Linked DNA regions of Homo sapiens: region 1 is linked to region 2. Evidence: promoter capture Hi-C in 16 types of primary human blood cells and fetal thymus (Javierre and others, 2016). All regions are on one chromosome and are shown on one strand. Each heading gives the region's core, a stretch centred on a gene start or on the middle of the fragment in contact. The rest is flanking DNA. Distances are from core to core; before and after follow the strand shown. Region 1 holds the start of C5orf34 (chromosome 5 open reading frame 34). Region 2 holds the start of ANXA2R (annexin A2 receptor).

Region 1 (3,742 bases), core at 287-2,786, 470 kb after region 2:
TCCTACTTCTACAGGGCACTTTAGATACATTGGCATTTTAAATGTTCTTTAAACAAGCTCTTTCCCATCTTTGCAGTTCTTTCTGCCTGCCTTGTCTTTTCCTTGGCTAATCACAAGGCTGGTTCTTTATCATCATCAAGGTTTCAGCACAAATGTAACTCCTACAAGGGCCCAACGACCAACTAAGTTAAAGTTACTCCCAAACATCTCCCAATCATTTGTCATCCCTCTTCAAGTTTTTTCTTCATAGAATCTATCATCAAAATTGATTATTTACTTGCTTTTTATTTTCTCCCACTAGGATATAAAGTCAACCGAAGCAGGGGCCTTATCTGTCTTATATGTAACAGTATCTCTGGCATCTAAAACAGTATTAGGCAAATAGTAAATGGCACAATAAATATTTGAATGATGAAAAATAAGTAAACTGCTCCTCTTGAATTTGCAATTTGAATTAATGGTGTCTCATTGTTAGCAGCCAATATTCTAAAACTTGACTTTCCACTCCATGCCCCTGTAACAAGTCCTGTTGATTTTCTGTCTTTGGAACCTGACTCTCTCTACCTCTTTCTCTTTTTCAGGCCATAGACTCTCCAACTCCTGCAACTGTCTGGAATTTCTTCTCTCTCCAATCCATCTCTAGTATTGATGACATAGGTAACTTTCCACAAGTCACACCATACCAAGTGCTTTACATCACCTGTTTACGTACTTATCAAATGGCAATATAGATTACAGATATATATATAAACACACACGTATATATCGGGTATGTCTACTTGGTATTTTAGGGGAAAAAACGGGTGCTGATACATAGATGGAAGACATTTTCTGATTCCAATTTGGGAAAAATAGTCTATCTTTGGTCAGGTCTTTTTTTTAATAGCTTTACTGAGGCGGTTTTCTAATTTTAAATAATCAAGCATACACAACAAACAGTGTAATGACTAAGGTTCTTGGCATACCATAGGAAACCATAACCCGGCTCCAACCCACACTGCCATTCTCATCTCTACAGTCTCATTCCCGCTTGCGTTCTCATCACCCAGCACATTACGTCAGGGTATGTTTAACACTCAAAAATCCACAAGTCTGTTCTTGACATGAATGAGAATCTCATTTCTTTCAAAATGCTATAGTCTCTAGTTACAGAAGGAGCCTGATCAAAACAACCACCAAAAGTCTTCCACTCACAGCAGTTCGGAGCCGAAAAGTTGCGGAAATGAGGCCCAGCAACGGTCCCTGGCTTTGATTTGCCAAAATGCTCTGGAAGCCGCAGCGTCGGCGCCTGCCCACCACTGCTTCTTCAGGGGTTTCTTCAGTTTGACAAATTACCAGCGAGTGATATTTCTTGGTGAAAGAAAAAAATCACAACCCTAGAGGAATAAGGTGGCAGGGAGAGTGTTTTGGCCAAGATGCCCGCCACGAAACAGGAAAGCGGAGACAGCGCCAACTGTAACCACTAAGAGAAAGCGCAAACCGCACAAGACCAGTTCAAAACCAGCGCCCTCAGGGAGCCGCTTCAGAGCTCCGCAACAGGGAAGACAGGAAGTCCCGCCCCTCCACAACAGGAAGGGCCGGAAGTCCCGCCCCTCCACTCCGGAGGCTGCCCTCGCTGCGTTCCCTACGAAGGGCGGAGCAGGAATTGGTGTAGGAAGGGGACGGGTGTTTCCTTGTTCGGAATGGGGTTGGCTCCTCTTTGATTTTTTACTTCTGGTGACCCACGCAAAAGCAGTCCCGACCTGGTTGTATTAATAATAAAGGCTGTAAGGATCAGCCTTTTGAACGGTCCAGCCGAGAACTAACCACAGAGCGCGTTTTAGTGGAGTGGTACTTATTTTTAAATAAGGTAAAAAACGATTATACTTCAGTAAAGCTGTTTAGAAAAAAAAAAACTTGGCCAAAGATGGAGAACTCTTCCTAATTTGGTATCAGAAAATAGGTCGTCTATGTATCTGCACCTTTTTTCCTTATAAAGTGGCAAATAAATGTGTCTGCTATATTTATTGCCACTAAACAAGTGTTTATGGAACACTCACTGTGTGTTTAGGCATAGTGGGGATAAAGCAGGGAAGGTGGCCCAGTTCTTTGCGGGTGAGGATCAGAGCTAGAGATTAACTGGAAAGAAAGAATAAACAATCATTTATTACAGTTGTGAGTGTTTCTAAGATAAAATACAGAGGTTTGTGAGAGCATAGAGAGGCATACCTTGTTTTATTGTGCATTTTATTGTGCTTTGCAGATACTGAGTTTACTACAAATGGAAGGTTTGAGGCAACCTTGATGGAGCAAGTGTATGGGTGCCATGTTTTTCCAACATCATGTGCTCACTTTGTGTCTCTGACATATTTTGGTAATTCCCACAATATTTCAAACTTTTTCATTATTTTTGTATCTGTTAGAGTGATCTGTGTGATCACTGATCTTTGATGTCACTACTGTAATTGTTTTGGGGGACCACAGATCATGCTCATACATTATAAAATGGCGAACTGAATCTGTTACAGGTAGTTAGGCATGAGCAAGGCAGGAGAGGGCTCTCCCCTGCCACCCACCCACTAGAAATGTTGGGTGATGGTTCAGCAATTATCACATGGCCTCTCTAAAAATGAAAATTTGGCAGCGCCAGGGAAAGGCCATTTCCTGATGGCCCACACCTGTTAACATCAAAATGTTAATTGAATGCAGGCCCCAGAGAGAAGCAACTTCCTGGGCATGCCGGTTAAGAGACAAAAGTGATGAAGTATGATTTTTCTGATACACTCCACCGGAAAAAGGAAGAAAGCCTCAGATGGGCATGTGTATAAATCCATAAAATCACTGTGTGTGCTCACTTCCCAAGGGTAAAGAGGGCTCTGAGCATGCAGGGAGCCCATCCTAAGATCATGGTTAAATGCGGCACTTGACCTTCTCTCTCTCTCTCTCCTTTTCTTTTTCTTTTTTTTTTGAGACGGAGTCTCACTCTGTCGCCCAGGCTGCAGTGCAGTGGCGCGATTTCAGCTCACTGCAATCTCCGCCTCCCGGGTTCAAGCAATTCTCTGCCTCAGCCCCCTCCCCGAGTAGCTGGGATTACAGGCGCCCACCACCATACCCGGCTAATTTTTTTGTATTTTTAGTAGAGACAGGGTTTCACCATCTTGGCCAGGCTGGTCTTGAACTCCTGACCTCATGATCCACCTGCTTCAGCCTCCCAAAGTTCTGGGATTATAGGCGTGAGCCACTGCACCCGGCTGGCCTTCTCTCTTTAACCTTCACATGCCCACTTGGGTCTCTTCCATGCGTACCTTCCTTTCTTTCCTGTTCTAATGCCTGTTTAAATAAACCTCCATTCCTACTCTGGAACTTGCTTCAGTCTCTTTTCTGCTTTATGTCTGTCAGTCAAATTCTTTCTTCTCTGAGGAGGCCAGGACTGAAGTTGCTATGGACCTGCAAGGATAGGCTGCTGGTAACTTGGGGTAACTCAGATCTCTTCCACTAGTAACAAGTCGATTGATATATATTGTGTGTGTCTGGCTGCTGTATTCACTGGCCACTCTCATCTCTCACCCTCTCCTAGAGCCTTCCTATTCCTTGAGACACAACAATATCAAAATTAGGCAAAGTAATACCCCTACAGTGGCTTCTAAGTGTCCAAGTAAAAGAGGGTTGTATGTCTCTCACTTTAAATCATAACCTAGAAATGCATGATTAAGCCTGTAAGGAAGGCATGTTGAAAGCTAAGATAGGCTGAAAGCTAAGCCTC
Region 2 (3,528 bases), core at 334-2,833:
GGCCTCACCCTGTCGCCCAGGCTTTTCTCAAACTCCTGAGCTCAAGCAATCCGCATGCCTCCGCTGCTGAAAGTGCTGGGATTACTGCCGTGAGCCACGCTGCCCCGCCAGAATAAGTAATCTTAAGAACTGGTCATCTGTGAAGTTGTATTAATATAAGTAATTGCGTGGTCCTTCCACGAGAAATAGCAAAGATTGATAAACCTCTCAGTCTTATGATCGTGAATAAAATTCCTGAGTGTAAAACAATGAATCGATATACTGAAAAAAAGAAAGACCGCTGTTAAAAATAAAATTAACAATTAAAATTAAAAAGACGTTATAATAACGTAAAAGACATGATATAAAATTAAATGTAAACAAACAATACATTTAAAAAGCAATAATTAGAAAAATAGTAGGAATAAGATTTTAAAATACAATGGAAAAAAACAAATTTTAAATTTGCCAAAAACTCTAAGAATTCTACAATCGTAAAATAGATTTCTCAAAGTGAAAACAGATACGAATGAAATATTTAATGAAATAAATACAAATATTTAAAATACAAGGAAACTGAAAGTAATAAGCGACGCGAAACAAGAAAGAAACATAAGGGAAAAAGAGAATTTAAAAACTGACAACCAGCAATGAAAGCACATCTTAATGTATTTTTATTTTCTAGGTGGAGACGTTTGGTAACTGAGAATCTTTTCAAGGAGGAGAATCCAAAAAGCCTTCTGCTGCTATCTAAGGCTGCTTAGCTCCACAGATCCGTGAACAGCACGCCCAGAGTACAGAGAACGCGGCAAAACCAACGCGAAGAATCCACTCCAGGCAGTCTGAGAAACCCGGGAGGTGGCGCCACGGCTGGAGGGCAGGAGGATGGCGGCGTTCCAAAAGGCACCCGCTGTCACAGACCTCGGTGTCCTGCTGTCTGTCCCAGGGATGGAGAGGACTGCTCCAGGGAAGCTGCTGGAGCCTGAGTCTGTCGGGTTCCTCTGCCTGCCCCACCTCTTCTACGGGTGCCTCTTGCTGCTTCTGTGTCCCCGGCCAACTGAACTCAGTGGGCTTCGCTGTACTTGGTTCCAAGGTGCTCTGGACTCCAGGAGAGAGTCCGTTTTGCCAGTAGACTCCGGGCAGCCGCCAGCAAGGGCTGGAAAGCAGTCCCAAATCACAGCTGTCCAGTGAGTACTCTCCTAGTACTGGATACAAAGGAAGAGGCCACGGCCCACGATCTTCTGAACTCACAATAGGTGGAGGCTGGGGCTCTGGCGCCACCTCTGCGGAATCCCAAGCCCGCTTCACACAGCCAAGAAAATGTTGCTCCATCCCTCAAGCCTCAGACCAACGTTTGCGCTGATCAAGGAGGGAGAGTCTCTGCACTACCATCAGCCTGAGTATTTATGCTCTGCAGAGCCCGTGGGCGGAGGCCAGTCAGATATTAAGAAACTCAGTAGTAACAAATGCACGAAAATTAGTAGACAAATGAAAAACGATAACATTTTAGAGAGTACATAGAACCAAAACGAACCGTAATTCCGACAGAAAAACATGGCGAGAAAAGAAACCGAAATGAAATGACACTAAGCAAATCTTGAAGAGAACTAGCGCTACAGAACGCAGGTATTCAAGAGCGCGCAAGGGCCAAGAACCACCCGTTTCCGGGAAATGAGCGTTGCTGCCACCGGAAAACTGTCTGCTAGGGCTCTGCCCTAACCACCTTGCAAACGAGAAACTGGCGCGTTGAACTTAGCAAGCGCCGGCACCTAGCGGATAGCGCTGGTATTGCCAAACAAATATCCGTTTTGGCGCCGTAAAGGGTGCTGCTAAAGAGAAACAGCATGCTCTTAGAACTAAGAGCGGTGCTTCCACACCTAAACAACCTGTTTGGAGGAATGAACCAACTCTGTTTCAATGTGTTGTACCAGAAAAATGTGTTGCGGCATTTAATGTGTTTTAATCCGTTCAATGTGTTTGATAGGTTTAATATGTTTTAACCCGTTTTAATGGGTTGTGACAGAAAAAGCGCCGGCTAATGGTACCACACAATTACTAGTGCGAACAGCGGCTCGGTGCAATCACCGTTCTGCACGGCAAAACGGGGTTCAGGAAGTTCCTAGGAGATACTAGCGGTTGTAGGAGCGAAAAAGTGACAGCACTGAGAACCTAAGGACCCCGCGAACGGGAAATGTCACGTTGGGTGCAGCAACTGAGAAAACGCCCAGTGGGCGCCACTGGCAAACGTGCTGATACAAAACCGCCAGCTCTGCATAGGAAGCGGAGCCTCCAGACAGAACCCGGAACCTGATACCAGCGAGGCTAAGACCGAGCTCGGCTCCCCGGCTCCTGAGAGAATGAAAGTCAAGAAGCACGAATCTGAGACGCTCAAAATTAGAAGAAAAAAAAAATACATAATTTAAAATAATGAAAGTCTGAAATGCAAGTAAAAATGAAAAACACATCGGTAACATTGTCCTCAGAGCAAGACACAAAAATAATTTTAAGGTAAGCAAAAGTTACAGAGAACCAACCCTACAAAGAAGAAATTACAAATATGGCTAAGCGATGCAATGCCTACCATTAGAATATTTCTGTCAGATCTAAACCCCTGCAGGTTGCTCCTGTCATAATTTCCTACGAGAAAAAAAACAAAAATATCCACGGTTAAACGTGTTTAGCTACGTCTAAAAAATCGTAGTAGCTGGTACATCCCGATTTGGTCTACAAGAGGAAAAAGTCTCGATGGGCAGGACTTGCTATTGTCAAAGGGAGCTTGGTAAAACTGAGACATCGCGATCGCCGGCATTTCCTGACTTCCACGGGAGTTTTAAAAACACACAAGCATAGCTAAGACAGGACTCGATATTGCGAAACCAAACTTGGTATAAGAGCTCCCAACACTGCTAAACTGGTCATCGCTAAACCTTTAAAAAAAAAAAAAAAGCATTCGCTGGTACCCAGATTTCCACAGGAGTTAAACATTTCCTGCGCAGCTAAAGCAAGTCTTACCAGTAGGAAACCGGAACTTGCTAGGACTAAGAAACTTGAGGCTAGGCTGACCCCATGGTTGTTATGATTAGAAATCCGAGGCCACTGGAAACCCGGAGCTGCTGACCAACGAGTCACAGGGTAACTTCGCCTTCGCATGGGGAAACGGGTGAGTTCCTACGGCCTAGATATCGCAGCCAGGGCTAGACCGGTGTTTGTCTTAAGTCAGGACTTGCTTGGGCTGAGAAAATACATTTTGGCTATTCCCCTACTTGGACAGAGGGTGGAAATCCCAGGCACCGCGAAATCGAAACTTGCTAGGACTAAGAAGCCAACGACGCGCGAAACCGTGGGGTCCTGCGACAGAGACGCCGGCGGCGCCGCCACAGGACTGCGTTCTGGAGGCCGAGCCGGAACCCGTGCGGCGGCGCTGGGAAGAGACTGTGCCCCTGCAGCTCCCCTGTCACCGGCTCCAAGGAGCGTCGGGCTCCCCCCGCCCAGCCCTGCAGCACCCATCCGGCAACGCCAGACTCGGCGCAACGGGGGCAGCTGCGACTT

What was found. Contacts are between HindIII fragments. The CHiCAGO score rates a contact against its expected background, and 5 or more counts as called.
Region 1: a contact is called between the fragment with the promoter of C5orf34 here and the fragment with the promoter of ANXA2R in region 2, in 2 of 17 cell types (neutrophils and M2 macrophages). The highest score is 6.3, in neutrophils.

Annotation. Positions count from the first base shown.
Region 1 is chr5:43,513,612-43,517,353 of GRCh38, forward strand. C5orf34 (chromosome 5 open reading frame 34) reads right to left here and starts at 1,537. Exons shown (of 13, transcript NM_198566.4): 1 at 1,195-1,537. LOC124900190 (a long non-coding RNA gene) reads left to right here. Exons shown (of 3, transcript XR_007058764.1): 2 at 582-3,742. RefSeq lists an enhancer at 1,145-1,304. The HindIII fragment of the contact is 8,167 bases long and covers 1-3,742 here.
Region 2 is chr5:43,038,736-43,042,263 of GRCh38, forward strand. It overlaps ANXA2R (annexin A2 receptor), which reads right to left and starts at 1,584. Exons shown (of 1, transcript NM_001014279.3): 1 at 636-1,584. The coding sequence starts at 1,311. The coding sequence ends at 730. All of the region lies in intron 2 of ANXA2R-OT1 (ANXA2R overlapping transcript 1), which reads right to left. It overlaps ANXA2R-AS1 (ANXA2R antisense RNA 1), which reads left to right and starts at 3,399. Exons shown (of 2, transcript NR_015447.1): 1 at 3,399-3,528. RefSeq lists enhancers at 466-1,006, 698-747, 768-1,177, 1,188-1,237, 2,893-2,972 and 1 more and a silencer at 1,578-1,847. The HindIII fragment of the contact is 14,499 bases long and covers 1-3,528 here.